Regions from separate parts of the Homo sapiens genome. Here region 1 is linked to region 2. Evidence: promoter capture Hi-C in human tissues and cell types (Jung and others, 2019). All regions are on one chromosome and are shown on one strand. The core of a region is centred on a gene start or on the middle of the fragment in contact, and the rest is flanking DNA. Distances in the headings are between cores, read along the strand shown. Region 1 holds the start of CARF (calcium responsive transcription factor). Region 2 holds the start of BMPR2 (bone morphogenetic protein receptor type 2).

The links. The method cuts DNA at HindIII sites, captures the fragments that hold promoters and counts their contacts. A contact is called where the count stands out against the background at its distance.
Region 1: a fragment that was not itself captured here is called in contact with the fragment with the promoter of BMPR2 in region 2 in 1 of the 25 tissues and cell types used here (hippocampus).

What each region holds. Positions count from the first base shown.
Region 1 is chr2:202,911,380-202,916,609 of GRCh38, forward strand. It overlaps CARF (calcium responsive transcription factor), which reads left to right and starts at 896. Exons shown (of 17, transcript NM_024744.17): 1 at 896-1,723. It overlaps WDR12 (WD repeat domain 12), which reads right to left and starts at 294. Exons shown (of 13, transcript NM_018256.4): 1 at 57-294. The coding sequence starts at 97. RefSeq lists enhancers at 477-626, 637-786, 827-1,026, 1,127-1,176. The HindIII fragment of the contact is 3,337 bases long and covers 1,480-4,816 here.
Region 2 is chr2:202,372,541-202,377,576 of GRCh38, forward strand. BMPR2 (bone morphogenetic protein receptor type 2) reads left to right here and starts at 3,787. Exons shown (of 13, transcript NM_001204.7): 1 at 3,787-5,010. The coding sequence starts at 4,935. RefSeq lists enhancers at 2,635-2,794, 2,905-3,194, 4,349-5,036 and silencers at 3,285-3,334, 3,485-3,974, 4,105-4,164, 4,235-4,294. The HindIII fragment of the contact is 15,181 bases long and covers 1-5,036 here.

The DNA.
Region 1 (5,230 bases), core at 1,898-4,397, 540 kb after region 2:
AGGGGTGGTCGGAAAGGAACCTGGGGAAGGGAGAGAAGGCTGGAACGCTTACTTACTTCTTGTTATCAGTGTAGAAGCGTGTTTGGAGCTGAGCCATGGCGAGGAGTACACACGACTTGCCCACGGAAACGTACGGGTTAGCAGACCCACAACACGAAGCTCCTGCCTTTTAAGACTACAAAGAGGCAGCTCAAAATTAGACTGCACAGGTAAGCGAGGAACTGCAGTCTAAGCCTGGACTCTGCCTTCTGCCCTCCGGTCTCCTCTGCAGAAAGCACGAGGTTGCCCTTCTACAGACGCCCAGACCACAAACATCGACTACCTACTCCTAGATTTAGGAGTCATCGATTAGAAAAGGATAGTCGTAAAGGTAGCATGTCCCTTTAATCATTGTTAGAATTCTTCCCATACGTGTGGGCCCGTAATCGATTAGGAAAAAGATCCCACTCAAATCCGCTTTATTAATAAAAAATTTTTTTTCAAGAGGCTGTCCTGAGCCTGGATAGTTCAAACACAGCTCCTAGTTACTACAAGTCTCAGAAAGCATCGCTTCTCAAACGCTGTGACCACCGGGAATTGTAGTCTTTTTTTGCCACGCTGCCCTCAGAGTATCTTATTTGCATTAAATCCTCTAGACTCCAGCCAGATATCAAATTTCCTCTGCCTTCAGCTTTGCTTGACTAACGCCTTGCCAGTTTTTTTTTCTCATACATATTCCCAACCAGAGGCTCACTCGGCAGAGGTTTTTCCTAAATCTCGCCTCTAACTGCGGCTTTTAGAGAGAGGCGAGAGGCGGAAATACAAAGAAAAGAACGGATGAGAGAGGAAACGGTCGACGGTGGCCGATAGTGGTCCTACTGTCGTGGGACTGCTCTGCGCGCTCCCGGTGGGGCGCGCCTGCGCATTATGCTGGTCTCCATGGCGGGGCCTCGGAGCCAAGACGAGGTTGAGTAGACTCGTTTTGAATTTTCTCCCCTCTGCTCCGGCGGACTTCCCATGTCGCCTTGTGGGGCTATCGGCGGCGGCAGGACTGGGGGAGTCAGAGGTCTGGCAGCGCTGTCTGCGCAGACCTACCGGACGCTACCTCCCAACCCCCCGTCTTCCTCCTGCCTCCTCCTCCTCCCGTCACCTCCTGACCCGCCGGAGCTCCGAGCAACTGCCGGCCTCCGCCCCCAGCCGCAGCCGGTCACTGGCGGCGCCTTCCGCGCCAAGCTTGGGGGCCTTTTCGGGGTCCCACATGGCACGGCTTCCGACCCCCGGCCCGGGACGGGGCTCGCAGGCCCCAGAGGGGCAGGCTGGAGAAGGAGGAGGTTAGGTGTCTTCAGGAGGGTTGCTGAGCCCAAGGACGCGCCATCGCCGCGGAGAAGGAGCCGGACCCCTTGGGCGGAGCGCCCAATGTGTGGTCCCTCACGCCGTCCCGCACCTTGCTTTTTAGGGTTCTTTTTCCGCTTTCTGAGCCCTTTTATACCTTACGTTTAGAAGGGGAAAATCATCCTCCCACACCTTCTCCCCGACTTTTTGCCTTTTTTGTCTTGAAGTTACCCAAAGGCCTGTGTATTGTTCTCAATGGTCCCAAGAATTACTCTAATATAGTTGTTTTTCTGAGGGAGGATGGATGGAGATAACTATCCTGATCCCAATGTCACTTTTTAAGGCATTCGCTTCAAGAGACAAGCAGTTTAGAATCAGGCAGAACTGGATTGCAAAATTTATGGGCAGACCGGTATGTGTGCAGGTGAAGACAAAGCTTTCCTTTTTTACGTTGTTTAAAGATGTCCTACTGTAAGGTAGACGCCTAATGTTTAAATGAACGCCTAATATTTAAATAGAGAATGAGAAGAGATTTAAACAATTGGAAGAAAAAATAATTTTTATTAGAGAGCAATGACAATAAAAGTAGGACTCTTTTCAGTTTACTCACCTTTGTAGCTCCGAATCCGGGCCCTGGAACCAGAATTCCTGGGTTCAAATCCTGCCTCTGCTACTTGATTAACCTTTTTGTGCCACACTTTTATCAACTATAAGAATTAACTGCGGCATCGGAAGCACTCAGTATATGTTAATTATTATCATCAAATAGTTACTAATTCCAGTTTAACTAGAAGCTTTGCCAGCGTGAATAGATAAGGGAGAATAGCCACATTGAGTGGAGGAATAAAATTAGAAAACCTCTGTGCTGAAGTCCCAGGAGATCACTTATTAGGCTTGAGCTTGCTAATGGAAGTGGTGATCGTTTAACCATGTGGTTATTGTAGTGGTGAGGATTTACACATTAAATAAGTCTTGGGCATCTGAAGCTTGAAACACTTTCTTAATGAAATCTTGCCGTTGAATCTGTACTTACTGGTAATATGTCATTGGTTAAAATATATTTATAAAATGTATAATTGACCAGCAGGTTAATACATTTTTATCATTAATTTGAAATTTATCAAAATGAGAATATACAGTACCTGACAGTAGAGTTTGATCTTAATTTGATTTGAAAATTATGATCAGGAAAATAACCTGAATATATGCTTAATAATATAAGACTTTCAGTTTGCAAAACAGAAATCCTGACTTGACTAAAATACACTTTTCATTTGACGGAGACCTTTAGTTAAGGAAAGATTAGTTTTAGCATTCAACATAACTAAATACCCAGCATTATGTTTTACGGTTTTTTTCAACAATGATTTATGTGTCGTGTTTGGTGTTGCCTCCAAACAGTACCTAGGATAGCTGATGCTTTTACTTTGAGTCTTTTTCTTTAGTTGGAACATTAATTGCAAGCTTTTGGTTGGTAATCATTTTTTATGGGATGTATTTACTATATGGTCCTCATGGAGACACATTGTTATCTGGAGAACCACAGTTTGGAAAATACATTTCTCTTTATTATAAAGTTTTTTGTTTTATATATATAATGCCACAGTGTGATAGGATACAAAGACTATGCATTAGGGCTTTGGAGTCTTAATTGTTCTTTGTGTTTTTCTTTTTTTCCAATTTGATTATGGATCCAAGCCTAATGCACTCTGTGATCTTAAGCAAGTTTCTTGACAGTTCCAGTTTTCTTATCTACAAACAGAGACAAGAAGATCTACCTCAGAGTCATTGTAAGGATTAAATAAATTTGTAAAGCTCTCAAAGAGCAGCCTAATCCCAGCATTTTGGGTGGCTGAGGCGGGTGGAGCACCTGAGGTCAGGAGTTTGAGACCAGCCTGGCCAACATGGTGAAACCCCGTCTCTGCTAAAAATACAAAAATTGGCCAGGCATGGTGGGGGGTGCCTATAATCCGAGCTACTGGGGAGGCTGAGGCAGGAGAATTGCTTGAACCTGGAAGGTGGAGTTTGCAGTAAGCCAAGATCACGCCACTTCACTCCAGCCTGGGCAAAAAGAGTGAAACTCCATCTCAAAAAAAAAAAACAAACAAAAAATCAGAGCAAAAAGGTAAAAAGTTTGTGCAGAGTAAAACATGGGTAGAAATGGATTGCAGGGAAGCTTATAGTGAGAATAAACCATAAATAAAATTGACATTGTGAACACCAGCCTTAGATTTTTTTTCCCTGAAAATTAAAAAGTGCTTTTTTTTATTTTTTTATTTTTTGAGTTGGAGGGTTTTTTGGTGGTGGTGGTGGTGTTTGTTGTTTTGTTTTTGGTTTTTTGTTTTTTTTCAGAGTCTCCCTCTGTCGCGAGGCTGGAGTGCAGTGGCGCTATCTTAGCTCACTGCAACCTCCGCCTTCCAGGTTGAAGCGATTCTCCTGCCTCAGCTTCCCGAGTAGCTGGGACTACAGGTGCCTGCCACCATGCCCGGCTAATTTTTTGTATTTTAGTAGAGAAGGGGTTTCACCATGTTGGCCGGGATGGTCTCGATCCCCTGACCTTGTGATCTTCCCACCTCGGCCTTCAAAAGTGCTGGGATTACAGGCGTGAGCCACTGTACTGGTTGAGGTGGAGTCTTGCTCTGTTGCCCAGGCTGGAATGCAGTGGCATGATCTCATCTCACTGCAACCTCTGCCTTCCAGGTTCAAGTGATCCGTGTTTCAGCCTCCCCAATAGCTGCGATTGCAGGCTCCTGCCACCACTCCCAGCTGATTTTTGTATTTTGTTTTGTTTTCTTTTTGAGATGGAGTCTGGCTCTGTCACCAGGCTGGAGTGCAGTGGTGCAATCTTGGCTCACTGCAACCTCCAACTCCCTGGTTCAAGCAATTCCCCTGCCTCAGCCTCCCGAGTAGCTGGGATTACAGGCACACGCCACCACGCCCAGCTAATTTTTGTATTTTTGGTAGACACAGGGTTTTATCATGTTGGCCAGGATGGTCTCAATCTCCTGACCTTGTGATCCATCTGCTCAGCCTCCCAAAGTGCTGGGATTACAGGCATGAGCCACTGCACCTAGCCTGTTTTTTTTTGTTTTTTTTTAAGTAGAGACAGGGTTTCACTATGTTGGCCAGGCTGGCCTCCCAACTCCTGACCTCAAGATCCGCCCACTTTAGACTCCCAAAGCGCTGGGATTACAGGCATGAGCCACTGCATCCAGCAGAAAATTTAAAAATTAATATAGGTTATTGTTTATATATAATTGCATGCATTTAAAAGTTCGATGTTTAACATAACTTTAAAAACTGATTCTTAAAAAATAAATTATCCTATTAAAATATTTGTGAATTAGTCTTGATTTCATTTTTGACACCACTGATTCATAGTAATTTTGTACATATTATAAAAGGAATGTTATGTCATTTACCTCTAAAAGATGCGGTAAATTTTACTTTCTAAAGTACTTTTGAGCAATATTTTATTTATTTATTTATTTATTTATTTATTTATTTTTGAGACAGAGTCTCACTCTGTCGCCAGGCTGTAGTGCCGTGGCACAATCTTGGCTCCCTGCGACCTGTGCTTCCCAGGTTCAAGCGATTCTCCTGCCTCAACCTCCCCAGTAGCTAGGACTATAGGTGCGCACCACCACACCTAGCTAACTTTTTTGTATTTTTAGTAGAGATGGGGTTTCACCACGTTGGCCAGGATGGTCTCAATCTCTTAACTTCGTGATCTGCCCACCTTGGCCTCCCAAAGTGCTGGGATTACAGGTGTGAGCCACCAGCATCCCGCCGAGCAATACTTTTTAATGTAGTTAATAAGATCTGGCGCTGATAATGAATAGATTTAAAGATCTTTTACATCTTAGGACATTAACCAAGGTATCTGGAATTTAAAGAAACAACTTCAAGCTGCTTTCTC
Region 2 (5,036 bases), core at 2,537-5,036:
CGGTAGTCCTCCCTGCCCCTTATCCACAAGGAACTTGTTCCAAGACCTCCAGTGGATGCCTGAAACTGCAGACAGTACTGAACCCAATTGCTATAAACTGGAATACATTTCTATTATGTCTTCTACCCACAAATTTAATGCCTTTTCCATCTTAACTAAGCACTTATTACACATTGTGGCCATCACTTTTGCAGTTTGAGGTATGGCAGCAAAACTAGCATGAATTTATTTTTTCTTCACAATTCAGTTTCACAGATAGATTTTTTTTTTTTTTTTTGCCAGAGTCTCTATCGCCCGGGCTAGAGTGCAATGGGCAACCTCCACCTCCTGCGTTCAAGTGATTCTCTTGCTTCAGCCTCCGGAGTAGCTGCTGGGATTACAGGCACGTGCCACCACTCCCAGCTAATTTTTGTATTTTTGGTATAGACGGGGTTTCACCATGTTGGCCAGGCAGGTCTTGAACTCTTGACCTCAAGTGATCCTCCTGCCTTGGTCCCCCAAAGTGCTGGGATTACAGACGTGAGCCACTGCACCCTGCCAAAGATTCATTGTTACCAGCAATCTTAGCAACCTCAGCCTATAATTTTTTTCCCTCCTTATTAAGTCAAGAACTCTGACTTTTTTTTTTTTTTTTTTTTTTTTTTTTTTTTTTTTTTTGAGACAGAGTCTTGCTCTGTCGCCCAGGCTGGAGTCCAGTGGCATGATCTCGGCTCACTGCAAGCCCCACCTCCCGGGTTCATGCCATTCATTCACTGCCTCAGCCTCCCGAGTGGCTGGGACTACAGGCGCCTGCCACCACGCCTGGCTAATTTTTTTGTATTTTCAGTAGAGACAGGGTTTCACCGTGTTAGCCAGGATGGTCTCGATCATCCTGACCTTGTGATCTGCCTGCCTCGGCCTCCCAAAGTGCTGAGATTACAGGCAAGAACTCTGACGTTTTAACTTACAGGAAGCACTTTACAGCTTCTGTATGGCTGAATTGCCAGCATCACTACTCTTGTGCTTTGGGGCCATTATTAAGTAAAACGAGGGTTAGTTGAACACAAGCACTTGGATATTGCATACTGCCACAGTCAGTCTGATAAGAGACTGCTACTAAGTGATTAAGGAGGTTATAGCGGATACACTGTACAAACCATGATTCACATCCCAGAAGGACAGTGTGGGATGGCAGCGATTTCCTCACAGCTAGTTAGTAACAGTACTCAATTTAAAATTTATGAGGCCAGGCGCAGTGGCTCACGCCTCTAATCCTATCATTTTGGGAGGCCAGAAGGGCGGATCACCTGAGGTCAGGAGTTCGAGACCAGGCTGACCAACATGGTGAAACTCCATCTCTACTAAAAATACAAAACTAGCCGGGTGTGGTGGCGCATGCCTGTAATCCCAGCTACTCAGGGGGCTGAGGCAGGAGAATCGCTTGAGTCTGGGAGGCGGAGGTTGCTGTGAGCTGAGATCGTGCCATTGTGCTCCAGCTTGGGCAACAAAAGAGAAACTACGTCTCAAAAAAAACAAAAACAACAACAACAAAAAAAAACACCACTTATTATTTCTGGAACTTTCCATGTAATATTTTCAGACCGTGGTTGACTGCAGGTAACTGAAACGGTGGATAAGGGGGAACTACAAAAAGGACACTTAATGTTTCTTGGAAAAAATCTTAAGCAAATAAAAATTGAATGATGAAGTACTTGATCTCAATTTGAGGAAGATAAAAGTGTACTACGAATTAATAAACTTTAAACTTTCTGCACCTCTAACATACTAAAATCCAATTTCTCTGAGTGCTAGAAACTCTCAGTTCTTGAAAGACAAATGGTAAAACAATACCGTTTCTAATTTAGACCTTTTGGGCAAAACAAAATACAGTAATAAAGCTATAAAGAATCGGTCGGGGGCGGTGGCTCACGTCTGTAATCCCAGCACTTTGGGAGGTCGAGACGGGCGGATCACGTGAGGTCAGGAGTTCGAGACCAGCCTGGCAAACATGGTGAAACCCTGTCTCCACTAAAAATACAAAAATTAGCCGGGCGTGATGGCGCCGCCTGTAATCTCAGCTACTCGGGAGGTTCAGGCCGGAGAATTGCTTGAACCTGGGAGGTGGAGGTTGCAGTGAGTCGAGATCGCGCCACTGCACCGCAGCCTGGTCGACAGAGCAAGACTCCGCCTCAATAAATAAATAAATAAATAAATAAAACCTAAATAAATAAAGCTAATGAATCAAAGCATATGCTCTTCGTCTTTTTAAGGGATTTTACTAGGTAGAATTTTTTTTTCTCTGTCTAAAGGGTAAACAGCATAAACATATTTCAACTAAAAAGAGTCTTAGAATCCGGGGTTGGTATTGCTACAACCCCTAATTATGGAAGATGTTTAGTATAACAGAACCAGTTTAAGGAATGTGGAGATTTATTTACATCAAATTCAGATAAAGAGGTAACAGCGGACTAGAAGAAGCAAGCAGAGCATGACTTAAGGAGTCTATCTATGACTGTATCTGTGGAACTGCCCTTAGCCACAATGAAAGACCAGCAAAACCAGCCTTCAGCATAACCCTCCTGCCTGGTAGGAGATGGGAAGGCCAGACTTCACCCCTCAAGATCGCCCTCCCACGCGCATTTTCCACCTCGCAGCTAAGAATTCAGTCCAGACTTCCGATCATGGCGCCACGCACGTCACCTTCTCCCCTCGCCGCCAGCAAAATCCCACCCACGTCGGCTGACCCCGCAGCGGGGTGTAAGGGCGGGAGGGATCCCGTCTCCTATACTGGTCGCTTGTACAAACCAGATCCAAAAAACGCACTACACAAATCCTTGGAAACTGCGGTACCAACGGGATCTTCTCAATTCCTTGAGTGCAAAATGATCCCACTCTCTATCCCGACACAACTCTAACTCCATTTTCCTTTCACGTGCCCTAAAAAGCCCTCAAGGCCCCCAGCCTTGGTGAATCCAGGCCCTCTCTCGGGGTGGGCACCGCGCTGTACGGACAGACGCGCGCACGCAGCGGGACGATTTATAGAATTAAAAGTCTTTTTTTTTTTTCTGGCTTCGCATCCTTGCAAATACTCAATATTCCTGTCAACTAAGAAGGCTAAGGGAATGGGCGGTTGAGGAAAGCAGGACGTCGATTACAGCGAACACATCAAAGGGGTGGTCTTTCCAATTCCGGCTTTTGTTTGAGTCAGAGGGGAGCCTGAGGAGGCCAAGGTCTCCGGTTCTGGGAAAGGCGGGTCCATCCGGATTCTTTGGGCTGCGGAGAGGGAGGTTCCAGCCCCGTGAAACAACAGAGGGCAGTTCTGCCCCTCGAGGCTTTCCTCCGAGAGTACTGAGACGGAGACGCCTCAGTCGGGAGAAATCCCGGAACTCGGAGGAGTCTGCTGAACGCCGAACAAAAGGATGTGGCCGTCGTCTCTTAAACAAATACGCGAATCCCAAGCCATGCACATTTGGAAGGCATGTGTATGTGTGTGAAGGAGAAAGGCCACCGCTGCCCACCGCAGCCCCACCCAGCCCTCGGCCATTCACCGGAGAGACGCGCTGCGGTGGGGCCTCGGAGCCCTCAGCCAGCCCCGAACGAGGGGCGGGGCCGGGCGGGGCCGTGAGCGCGCAGGCGCAGTGCGGGCTTCATCCCGCCGCCGGCGCCGCCGCCGCCGCCGCCCGCTCTGCACCACAGGCTAGAGACAGACAGGGCCGGGAAGAGCCGGAGACTGAGGAGGAGGCGGAGGCGGCGGCGGAGGCGGGGCGACTCCGGTGACCGGGAGCGCCGCAGACTGGCAGCTGCGGCGACTCCCCCCTTTGTGTCTGGTCTGCTCGGAGCCACTGGAAGTGCCTCCCGGAGGGACGCAGGGTGTCTCGCCGCCTCCCTGCCCACCCCCTTCCCCGGCTACCTTCATCCGCCCTCCCGCCGCCCCCCGCCCTCGGTCCGCGACGCCCGAGTTCCGTCAGGAGCCCAGAGCTGCGGGAGAACGAGGCGGCGGCGGCGGCGGCGGCGGCGGCGGCGGCGGCAGCAGCAGCGGCTTCCTCGGGGGGTTGTGATTCGCTCACAGGAGCCATTGACGGGAGAAGAGGAGGCTTTCTTGGTGGAATTTACCTCAGGCAAGATCGAGCCGCAGGAATAAAAAGCGAGGAAGGGAAGGGAGCGCCGCCGGGAGGACTAGAAGGGGCAGCCTCTCACACCCACTCCGCCTGCCGTCTCGGGGAGCCCGGACCGGGGCCGCGACCGCGACCCCTCCCCTCCCCCGCTCCTACCTCTCCTCAGCCTTCGCCAGGGCCTCCCCAACCCTCTCACGGTTGTTCTGCGAAGGCGTGGGGACTGTGAGCTTGTCCATGGAGGCAGGCACCTTTTTTGATCCAGTCAAGGAAGAGGATTTGTTGTTTTCGAAATCAGAGTGAAGGAAGCACCGAAGCGAAACTTAAGGAATCCTGCCTTCCCGGAGCCGCGGGCGATGCGACTAGGGCTGCCGGGCGCCGCCGCCGCCCGTCCGGCTTCGTCCTTCCCGGCAGTCGGGAACTAGTTCTGACCCTCGCCCCCCGACCCCGGATCGAATCCCCGCCCTCCGCACCCTGGATATGTTTTCTCCCAGACCTGGATATTTTTTTGATATCGTGAAACTACGAGGGAAATAATTTGGGGGATTTCTTCTTGGCTCCCTGCTTTCCCCACAGACATGCCTTCCGTTTGGAGGGCCGCGGCACCCCGTCCGAGGCGAAGGAACCCCCCCAGCCGCGAGGGAGAGAAATGAAGGGAATTTCTGCAGCGGCATGAAAGCTCTGCAGCTAGGTCCTCTCATCAGCCATTTGTCCTTTCAAACTGTATTGTGATACGGGCAGGATCAGTCCACGGGAGAGAAGACGAGCCTCCCGGCTGTTTCTCCGCCGGTCTACTTCCCATATTTCTTTTCTTTGCCCTCCTGATTCTTGGCTGGCCCAGGGATGACTTCCTCGCTGCAGCGGCCCTGGCGGGTGCCCTGGCTACCATGGACCATCCTGCTGGTCAGCACTGCGGCTGGTGAGTAGCTCCGGCCGGCACGTCCC